Linked DNA regions of Homo sapiens: region 2 is linked to region 1. Evidence: promoter capture Hi-C in 16 types of primary human blood cells and fetal thymus (Javierre and others, 2016). All regions are on one chromosome and are shown on one strand. The core of a region is centred on a gene start or on the middle of the fragment in contact, and the rest is flanking DNA. Distances in the headings are between cores, read along the strand shown. Region 1 holds the start of SCAT2 (S-phase cancer associated transcript 2). Region 2 overlaps ATF7-NPFF (ATF7-NPFF readthrough).

Evidence for each region. The method cuts DNA at HindIII sites, captures the fragments that hold promoters and counts their contacts. A CHiCAGO score of 5 or more calls a contact.
Region 2: a contact is called between a fragment that was not itself captured here and the fragment with the promoter of SCAT2 in region 1, in 1 of 17 cell types (erythroblasts). The highest score is 5.2, in erythroblasts.

What each region holds. Positions count from the first base shown.
Region 1 is chr12:54,259,884-54,265,844 of GRCh38, forward strand. It overlaps SCAT2 (S-phase cancer associated transcript 2), which reads left to right and starts at 2,732. Exons shown (of 2, transcript NR_157844.1): 1 at 2,732-3,054. All of the region lies in intron 1 of CBX5 (chromobox 5), which reads right to left. The HindIII fragment of the contact is 3,994 bases long and covers 656-4,649 here.
Region 2 is chr12:53,617,532-53,622,891 of GRCh38, forward strand. All of the region lies in intron 1 of ATF7-NPFF (ATF7-NPFF readthrough), which reads right to left. The region is part of intron 1 of ATF7 (activating transcription factor 7); the gene reads right to left. Among named protein-coding and RNA genes, the nearest start is that of ATF7, 6.2 kb to the right of the region's middle. The HindIII fragment of the contact is 5,613 bases long and covers 201-5,360 here.

The sequences.
Region 1 (5,961 bases), core at 1,482-3,981:
CAAGATTACAGCTCAACTGAAGGGGGAGGGGAAAGGCTCGATCCTTCTACAACACGATCAGTACAAACCACCCATCACTTAATCCAGCCCACCAGAGCACTTTGGGCAATCCCATTTTACCGTCTGTCACAGAACAGTTAATTAAAATTGCTTGAGGGGAAAAATAACAGGAAACAGGGGAGGGGAAGTATTTTAAAGACACTATATAACTTTCCTTCTTTGGGGGGATTACTAGAGACAAAATCCAAAGACATGAAGCACTACCAAAACAACAACCAAAAAAAAAAAAAAAAAAAACCCCTTTTAACTAAAATTAGAGGTGGAGGGCCAGGTGCAGTGGCTCATGCCTGTAATCCCAGAACTTTGGGAGGCCGGGACGGGGCAATCATTTGAGGTCACGTGCTCAAGACTAGCCTGACCAACGTGGTGAAACCCCGTCTCTACTAAAAATACAAAAAAATTAGCCAGGTGTGGTGGCAGGCGCATATAGTCCCAGCTCCTCAGGGGGCTGAGGGAGGAGAAATCGCTTGAACCCAGGAGGCAGAGGTTGCAGTGAGCCTAGATCGCACCACTGCACTCCAGCCTGGGCGACAAGAGTGAGACTGTCTCGAAAAAATAAAACAAAATGAATTTAGGTGGAAAAAAATTCCTAAGAAGCTTAAAAAAAAAAAAGAGGAGAGCAGTTCTGCCACAACCTAATGGTTGATAAATTTAAACCACTTATAGGTTGCTCTATAATGTTATAAAACAGATTTTTAAATAATTATTCATCACCTGATACATTATTAATATACAACTCTCTGTATCAGTATGTCTCAATACTTGAGAAAAGGAGTACTAGGATAAATAAAAAAGATATATAGAGACTTGAAATACTGTAAGTTTTCCATTCTTCTGGCTCTAAAGAACATTTTAGAGAGCTCCAAAACTCTACTCTGCTTTATAGATGTGGGAACTTTAAAGCCAGAAGTGGCTGCCATAGGAGAGTAAGAAAAAGGGACAATCAAAAGCAAAGAACTCAGTTGAGCCAGGAACAGTGGCTCACACCTGTAATCCCAGCACTTTGGGAAGCCGAGGCAGGTGGATTACCTGAGGTCAGGAGTTCGAGACCAGCCTGACCAACATGGTGACGCCCCATCTCTACTAAAAATGCAAAAATTAGCCAGACATAGTAGCACTTGCCTGTAATCCCAGCTACTTGGGAGGCTAAGGCAGGAGAATCGCTTGAACCTGGGAGGCAGAGGTTGCAGTGAGCCGAGACTGCGCCACTGCACTCCAGCCTGAGCAACAAGAGCGAAACCGTCTCAAAAAAAAAAAAAAAAGAACTCAGTTGAGAAGAAGCACAATGGTGACTATTACGACTGTCAAACAGAAGAAACCATAGGGTGTAAGACCAAAGTAGAAATTTTTTTCTTTTTTCTTTTTTTTTTTTGAGACGGAGTCTCGCTCTGTCACCAGGCTAGAGTGCTGTGGCGCCATCTCGGCTTACTGCAACCTCCAACTCCCTGGTTCAAGGGATTCTCCTGCCTCAGCCTCCCAAGTAGCTGGGATTACAGGCATGTGCCACCACGCCCAGCTAATTTTTGTATTTTTAGCAGAGATGGGGTTTCATCATGTTGGCCAGGATGGTCTCGATTTCCTCATCTTGTGATCCGCCCACCTGGGCCTCCCAAAGTGCTGGGATTACAGGCATGAGACACTGCACCCGGCCAGAAATTTTTTAATTACAAAAGATTTCCTCAGATTTGAATGGACCATCAGCAAACCTCCAATTAAAAACGGCATTTTTCAACTCTTACCTTTTAACTTTTCATAATTAAGGGATATAAAAACAATAACAAACATTTAAATAGGATCCTGACTCTGATTAACTTGCCATGTGTTATCCTGAGTAAATAAATTTTCCATCTAACCCCGGCATCATTTAAACGGGCTAAATAAATCTGTACTACCTGCCCTACGTACCTCCGAGGGAAAAAGTGAGTTTATGTTGAAACCAAAGATCTATTAAGTCCCCCAAAAAGAACCTTCTGTAAAAATATGTCAGGGCTGAATACAACAGCAGAAGAAAATATGTGACCTTCCAAATTCCTAAGCTAGTAAACCATATCACATGCAGTAACTCCTGCAGCTCAACACATTAGTAGATAGCAAGAAAAAGAGGAACAGTGTCTTTGTTAACTAGGCACTGGAAAACGAATAAACCTTCAGAGAACAGGGTAGGTACGTTCTCTCTCAAGGGCAAAATACTTATTCCTTAAAACTCAGACAAACTTTAAAGATGGCAGAATGAAAAGACTAATAGTAACTCTGTGAAGGAATAAGGAACAGGAGAGAATGACAGCAATACTAACATTTTGGTGAAACCTTTCAGAGAAAGAAAAGTGAATTTAATGAGGAAAGAGACAAAAATATTCTGGTGTCCACCCCTCCCCACAAAACATCAGAAAATAAAGATTGAGTTCAATTCCCTCCTTTCCACCCTTAAGAACTGCCTAAAGGGCACATGGGCCGAGGTCCTTTTCTTTTTGGGAAATGGGTTTTGTAACCACTGACAAATCGAATTGGGCCTGATGCCAGGAGTCAGAGTACAACCATAATATTCTTTAAAGGATGGCATGCAATTGTCTTGTAAATCTCCTAGACAGTCACAGATCAGAAGCTGGCAAGGATGACGACATAGTTCTGATGGAATGTGTCTTATCTTAACCTTGAAGTTACAGATCTGCTCAGGAGCAGCAGTAAGAAATGAGAAATGCACTCAGACATCGGAGGGGACATAATTCTCTTTTAGACAGTGTGACCCGGAGTATTAGGGTCAAATGAAACACAAAGCCAGTCAAACAATTTAAGGGCTAGAGCCTAGACCAGATAAAGCATCAAGACTGGTGGTTCACACTGAGCTTAGGAGGAGGGAGCTTTCCAGCATGAGAAATGAGACATGGCTGGCAGGATGATGGAGTGATTAAGATAGAATCCCAATACCATGACAGAGGAAAAGAAGATGAGCCTCTGAACACAACCTTATCCTTGTGGAAATCTCCAAGGGAAAGGGTGAGTAGCTTCTCAAATTTCTGGAGTCTTTCAGGCATAACAGCTCTCAGCCTTCTCTCTTAAATATACATAGGAACTATCTGGTAAAGCTACCAATAACTATAGATTACAGCACCTAAGGCCCATTGAGATGAGAAAAGAGGCTGGGCGCGGTGGCTCACGCCTGTAATCCCAGCACTTTGGTAGGCCGAGGCGGGCAGATCTCCTGAGGTCAGGAGTTCCAGACCAACCTGGCCAACATGGTGAAACCCTGTCTCTACTAAAAATACAAAAATTAGCCAGGTGTGGTGGCAGGCACCTGTTATCTCAGCTACTTGGGAGGCTGAGGCAGGAGAATCACTTGAACCCAGAAGATGGAGGTTGCAGTGAGCCGAGATCAAGCCATTGCACTCCAGCCTGGACAACAAGGGCAAAACTCCGTCTCAAAAAAAAACCAAACAAAAAACTTATCAGTCCTCAGCAATTACAGAGAGGGCATCACAAGCAAGCTAGGGCAACCCAGAAAAACAAGAGGTAGGCCGGCACAGCGGCTCTCGCCTGTAATCCCAGCACTTTGGGAAGCCAAGGCAGGTGGATCATGAGGTCAGGAGTTTGAGACCAGCCTGGCCAACATGGTGAAACCCCGTCTCTACTAAAGACACAAAAAAATTAGTCAGGCGTGGTGTAATCCCAGCTACTCGGGAGGCTGAGGCAGTTACGCACCTGTAATCCCAGCTACTCAGGAGGGTGAGGCAGGAGAATCGCTTAAACGGGAGGCGGAGGTTGCAGTGAGCTGAGATCGCGCCACTGCACTCCAGCCTGGGCAACAGGGTAAGACTCTATCTCAAAAAAAAAAAAAAAAAAAAAGAAAAGAAAAAAGAAAAAAAAAGGCCAGGCGCAGTGGCTCACGAGGTCAGGAGATTGAGACCATCCTGGCTAACATGGTGAAACCCTGTCTCTACTAAAAATACAAAAAATTAGCCAGATGTGGTGGCGGGAGCCTGTAGTCCCAGCTACTGGGGAGGCTGAGGCAAAAGAATGGTGTGAACCCAGGAGGCGGGGCTTGCAGTGAGCCGAGATCGCACCACTGCACTCCAGCCTGGGAGACAGCGTGAGACTCCGTCTCAAATAAAAAAGAGGTAATGGTTAGCCCTCAGCATTGACCGTTTAATGCTGGAAGAACCCACATAGGGTCCCTGGTATCTGTCTGCTTTGTCCAGTTCAGGTTCTACTCTCATCCCTCCAGTCATTTCTTTTTTGAGACAGGGCCTCGTTCTGTTGTTCAGGCTGCAGTGCAGTGGTGCGGACAGTTTATTGCAGTCTCAAACTCCTGGGCTCAAGCAATCCTCTCACCTTGGCCTTCTGAGCAGCTGGGACCACAGGGGCACGCCACCATGCCTGGCTACATTTTTTTATTTTTTGGTGAGATGCAGTCTCACTGTGTTGCCCAAGCTGGTCTCAAACTTCTGGGCTGAAGCAATCCTCCTGCCTTACCCCCACAAAGCAGTCACTACTTCTCAATACCAATTCTGGTGGCTTTTCTTATCTTGTTATAGTCATTTCATTTTCATCACCACTTATGAGCAAAAGTACACATAATTCTAGATCTTTCACTAAGCTTTCTTCTTATTAAGAATGAAAGCCAGCCGGGCGCAGTGGCTCATGCCTGTAATCCCAGCACTTTGGGAGGCCAAGGTGGGTGGATCACCTGAGGTCGGGAGTTTGAGACCAGGCTGGCCAACATGGCGAAACCCCATCTCTACTAAAAATACAAAAATTAGCCAGGTGTGGTGGCAGGTGCCTGTAATCCCAGCTACTGGGGAGGCTGAGGTAGGAGAATCGCTTGAATCTGGGAGGTAGAGGTTGCAGTGAGCCAAGATTGCGCCACTGCACTCTAGCCTGGGAGACAAGAGTGAAACTCCATCTCAAAGAAAAAAAAAAAGAAAAAGAAAGCCAATTGGTAAGCTGCCTCACTGAACTACCCACTGAATTAAAGATGGTAATCAAACCAAATGTCAAGATGCATAATCAATGAGCTCTCCATTGTAGAGTTTCAACATAAATTCTATAAGCCCCCTAACTAAGCAAAATCCTTTAGGAAGTAAGCCAGGGTTAAAGAGCAGAGGAGAGCGCATATGCAAAGCTCCCTATCACATGGATTAATTAGATATGCCATTGATGAGTGGTTGCAGTTGGCCCAGACTTGCACGATTCCCACTTCTCCTTAAGGCCCTTAGGGAGAGAGTGGCTTAGGTGAAGATTAAATTGTCAGCTACAGCACTGTCTTCAAAGCATCCTCTATATAGCCTTATTGCAGCAAATAAAACAGATGAAAATAAACCAAACTTACAGAAACATTTTAATCTGCTCTATGTTCCTTGCTCTTTATGGAGCTTGAAGTACTGATGGTTTTAGGTGTGTAACACAAACAGCATAAAACTAAAATATCCCCTATAAAGATGTTTTCTTGCAGTGGATTTATGATTTCCAAAGTATTAGCCATGTGGCATTTTAACAAAAACACAGCATAGAGATGCACATTACAGCTGTCCTGGCTGTCTCAGGTTTTGTTAAATGGGCTGATAACTATCACTCCACCTCCACCAAAAGCCCATGAGCACACAATTCAAGAGGAGTTAAAAGCTTTTTAAATGTCTGTTTAAGAGACTAGATTAGGAAAGAGTTGAAGAGAAAGATTAACTATGGTCGTTAACACCCCTATCATTAACGAGCCACATATAGACAACACAAACTTTATTAAAAGAAGAGAGCATGGAGGCAAGAAATGTTCTCCCATTGGCTAGCACAGCTCTAGTTCATGATCCTTTAAAAATCAGGCCAAGAGGCTGGGCACAACGGCTCACGGCTGTAATCCCAGCACTTTGGGAGGCTGAGGCAGGCAGATCGATCACTTGACGTCAGGAGTTC
Region 2 (5,360 bases), core at 1,757-4,256, 640 kb before region 1:
GGCAGAAGAATTGCTTGTAATCAGAAGCCGGAGGCTGCAGTGAGCCAAGATTGTGCCACTGCACTCCAGCCTGGGTGACAGAGCAAGACTATGTCTCAAAAAAAATTTTTTTAAATAATAATAAAAAAAAGACTACTATACTAACTCACCTTTGCTTTGGTTGGGAACCTTCGTTAAATGTTTGCCTACAAAATTTTAAAAGCTTATCTTTTTATACAAGTTTATCTTTTCATACAACCTTTCCTGAATTGTAACACTCATCCTTCATTTCCGAGGAAGTGATATAGCAAATACTTTCAAAATTGAATTGAATCTTGCCTCATTGTAAACAGGCAGTCAGTCCATTATACAGAAGACCAAAAAAAAAAAAAAAGTTTTTAAACAAAAGGACAAACAAGAGAAAGGAAGGAAACAAAATACTATGATTTAACAGGAACAAAACCCAACATTCTTTCAACACAAAGTGTCCACAAGGGAAATGTCGAAGAGAAAATGTCATGATAAAATATTTTTAAGATATAAAATGACTCCAATGCAAAATATTTGTTGTTGTTGATTTTTGTTTTGTTTTTAGCTCAAAGGAGTTATTATTTCTCGTCATTTATGTTCCTTACTTGTGTTTATCCATTCCCACTGGGTCGACAGAAACATTTCAATTTTATTTTCTTTACAGTCTATTTTTCTTCCTGATTCTTCAAGAGTAAGTTCCTTGATCTTAACTTCTATTTATGAAAGTTCTGGCCTGAAAAGAACCTTGAGGGGTTATCGAGTCCATCCTTCTGCTTTCCAGGAGAATTCATAACTAATGCTATCAGATGGATGAGAAGGTATCAAAAGAAAATGCATTGTTTCCCTGCCTAGTAGCATGCTAATTTAATATGCACATTCATTCACGATTTGCAATTTTTTAAAAACGAAAGTAAAAATTAAAATGCCAAAAGAGGAAGGTACTTAAAAAATGCATTTATCAGCTAAAATTGCTCAAACATAAATTCAACTGTCAGGTCTAAAATTAACAAGCAGGAAAAGTTGCTGCCTGCCAATGTAAAGTCTTTAGTCCCTAGAGATGTCTTCTGAAGTTGTATCTCATTTGTAGCACCCTTCACCTACAACACTTAGACCTGGCAAACTTAGACCATCCTTGCCAATAAACTACAATTATAAATGGCAATTGTGTGTGTGTGTGTGTGTTTATAGTTGGTATAGGTTTTTATTCCAAACAGAAAATGAAAAGTTAGGGTCGGACGCGATGGTTCTTGCCTGTAATCCCAGCACTTTGGGACGCTGAGGTAGGTGGATTGCCTGAGCTCAGGCGTTCGAGACCACCCTGAGCAACATGGTGAAACCCCATCTCTACTAAAACACAAAAAGTTAGCCGGGCGCAGTGGTGGGCACCTGTAGTCCCAGCTACTTGGGAGGCTGAGGCATGAGAATTGCTTGAACCTGGGAGGCAGAGGTTGCAGTGAGCCAAGACTGCACCACTGCACTCCAGCCTGGCTGACATAGCAAGACTCTGTCTCCAAAAAAAAAAAAAAAGAAGAAAATGAAAAGTTAGGTCTAAATTGGAGATGTCAACATTACAGGGAAACTACATAAAATTGTTTTCAGAGAGTAGTTTAATTCTTTCATTTCTAAGTTGAAATGTCCAGGGAATAAAGTTTTTTTCCTAAAAGAGTTTCCAAGGGCAGGTGGCTCACACTGTAAGCCCAGCACTTTGGGAGGCCCAGGTGGGCGCATCAACTGAGGCCAGGAGTTTGAGACCAGCCTGCAACATGGTGAAACCACGTCTCTACTAAAAATACAAAAATTAGCCAGGCGTGGTGGCATGTGCCTGCAGTCCCAGCTACTTGGGAGGCTGAGGGGGAGAACTCCTTGAACCCAGGAGGCAGAAGTTGCAGTGAGCTGAGATTACACCACTGCACTGCATCCTGGGAGACAGAGCGAGACTCCGTGTCAAAAAAAAAAAAAAAAAGAAAAAAAAAAGAAGAGTTTCCAAAACAAGCTGGGCATGGGGGCCCAGCCTGTAATTCCAGCACTTTGGGAGGCCAAAGCAGGCAGATCACCTGAACTTAGGAATTCAAGACCAGCCTAGGCAACATGGGAAACTCTGTCTCTACAAAAAATACAAAAATTAGATGGGCACGGTGGCGCACATCTGTAGTCCTAGCTACTCAGGAGGCGGAGGCAGGATAATCACTTGAGCCCAGGAGGCAGAGACTGCAGTGAGCCAAGATGGCGCCATTGCACTCCAGCCTGGGAGACAGAGGGAGACCCTGCCTCAGAAAAAAAAAAAAGTTTCCGAAACAGAATTTCATCTAATGTCAAAAAATCTGGCCAGGCACAGTAGCTCATGCGTGTAATCTCAGCACTTTGGGAGGCTAAGGCAGGAGGACTGTTTGAGCCCAGCAGTTCGAGACCAGCCTGGGAAACATGATGAGACCTCTACAAAAAATAAACAAAATTAGCCAGGCATGGTGGCATGAGCCTTTAGTCTCAGCTACTCAGGAGGCTGAGGTAGGAGGATGGCTTGAGCCTGGGAGACTGAAGCTGCAGTATGAGCCATGATTGTGCCACTGTACTCCAGTCTGGGCAACAGAGTAAGACCCTGTCTCAAAAAAAAACCATGGCCGAGCACGGTGGCTCACGCCTGTAATCCTAGCACTTTGGGAGGCCGAGGTAGGTGGATCACTTGAGGTCAGGAGTTCAAGACCAGCCTGGCCAACATGATGAAAACCCATATCTACTAAAAAAATACAAAAATTAGGCCGGGCGCGGTGGCTCACGCCTGTAATCCCAGCACTTTGGGAGGCCGAGGCGGGCGGATCACGAGGTCAGGAGATCGAGACCATCCTGGCTAAAACGGTGAAACCCCGTCTCTACTAAAAATACAAAAAATTAGCCGGGCGTAGTGGCGGGCGCCTGTAGTCCCAGCTACTTGGGAGGCTGAGGCAGGAGAATGGCGTGAACCCGGGAGGCGGAGCTTGCAGTGAGCCGAGATCCCGCCACTGCACTCCAGCCTGGGCGACAGAGCGAGACTCCGTCTCAAAAAAAAAAAAAAAAAAAAAAATACAAAAATTAGCCAGGTGTGGTGGCACATGCCTGTAATCCCAGCTACTTGGGAAGCTAAGGCCTGAGAATTGCTTGAACCTGGGCGGCAGAGGTTGCAGTAAGCCTGCCACTGCACTCTAGCCTGGGGAACACAGCGAGACTTCGTCTCAAAAAAAAAAAGAAAAAGAAAAAAACCACAACCAAAAGACAGTAACAAAATAACAACAAAAAATCCCTGCAACTATGAAGAAATATGGTTAATTTTCTATAATTATTTGAAAATGAAAAAAAAACAGGACTAGAAGTCTTGGAAATGGGAAAATTATAATTTTTTAAAATGTGGGGCAAGGGAGGTCGAGTACAGAAATCGTAGACTAGTGAAATATTATTTCTCAGAAAGATTCTAAATGAATTATTAAACAGATCACTTATGAACCACTGGCAAGTTATGCAGTGATCTATAAACAGTAGCATAAGATACCCAAACAGCAACTAATATGCAACTTCATTTTCTTTTTTGACAGGGTCACTAGCCTAGGAGTTCAGAGATGTCAGAGGCAGAATATACTGCATTTGGATTTCAACAAGATACCTCTTGCTATTTCATAGAAAATAAAGGTTAGATTATATAAAATGGCAGGTGGGATTCACAACTGAATTTTATCCAAAAGTTGACTAACAGGTTAATGTTAACATAATGATAGTCTACTCATGTTGTATAGCATTGTTCTACCCTTATACATGTTTACCAGTGACCTAAAACAAAAACACAGGTATCATGTTTATCAAATTTATCAATAATACAAACATATGAGAAATGGTCAAGAGGTGAAATGACATTATCAAGCTAAAACAACAAACCAAATTAACAAAATGATAATTACAGGGATAAATGTAAAGTTGTCAAAAAATCAACTACATGGCCGGCGCGGTGGCTCACGCCTGTAATCCTAGCACTTTGGGAGTTCAAGGTGGGTGGATCACTTAAAGTCAGGAGTTCGGGACCAGCCTAGCCAACATGGTGAAACCCCGTCTCTTCTAAAAATACAAAAAAAAAAAATTAGTTGGGTGTGGTGGTGCAGGCCTGTAATCCCAACTACTCTGGTGGCTGAGGCAGGAGAATCGCTTGAACCCGGGAGGCGGAGGTTGCAGTGAAACAAGATCGAGCCACTGTATTCCAGCCTGGGTGACAGAGCAAGACTCTGTCTCAAAAAAAAAAAAAAAAAAAAAATCAACTACACAAACTAATGTGATCTTAGGCTTTAAAAACAGAGGCATAGAGTGCAATAAAATAGAAGTTGTGATTCCCCCCGTAGTTTGTATTTATTAGATTATATCTGAGATGTTCAGACCTAGATGAGGAACCATAAACCACTCAGGTAACTAACTTGATGAAGAGCCTGATCTTTTATTTAAAATGTCACTTAAGAAATCGTACGGGCTGGGCTCAGTGGCTCATGCCTGTAATTCCAGCACTTTGGGAGGCCGAGGTAGGCGGATCACTTGAGGTCAAGAGTTCAAGACCAGCCTGGCCAAAATGGTGAAACCCCGTCTCTACTAAAAATACAAAAATTAGCTAGGCATGGATGGCGGGCACCTGTACTCCCAGCTACTCAGGAGGCTAAGGGACAAGAATCGCTTGAAACCGGAAGTTGGAGGTTGTAGTGAGCTGAGATCGCACCACTGCACTCCAGTCTGGGAAACACAGCAAGACTCCATCTCAAAAATAATAATAATAATAATAATAATAGAAATAGCTGGCCGGGCGTGGTGGCTCACACCTGTAATCCCAGCACTTTGAGAGGCCGAGGAGGGCAGATCACGTGGTCAGGATATTGAGACCATCCTGGCTAACACGGTGAAACTCCGTCTCTACTAAAAATACAAAAAATTAGTCAGGCATGGTGGCGGGCGCCTGCTAGTCCCAGCTACTCGGGAGGTTGAGGCAGGAGAATGGCGTGAACCTGGGAGGCGGGGCTTGCAGTGAGCTGAGATTGTGCCACTGCACTCCAGCCAGGGCAAAAGCGCGAGACTCTGCACTCCAGCCAGGGCAAAAGTGCGAAATTGCGTCTCAAAAAAAAAAAAAAAAATAGCTTAAAGAACTTGGGGTATTTACCCCAGAAGAGATGCCTCCTGTAATCCCAGCACTTTGAGAGACCAAGGTGGGGAGATGGCTTGAGCCTAGGAATTCCAGAAGAGCCTGGGCAATGCAGGGAGACCCAATCTCTACAAAAAATTTAAAAATTAGCCAGGCATGTTGGCATGCGCCTGTGGTCCCAGCTACTTGGAGGCTGGGAGGACTGCTTGAGGCC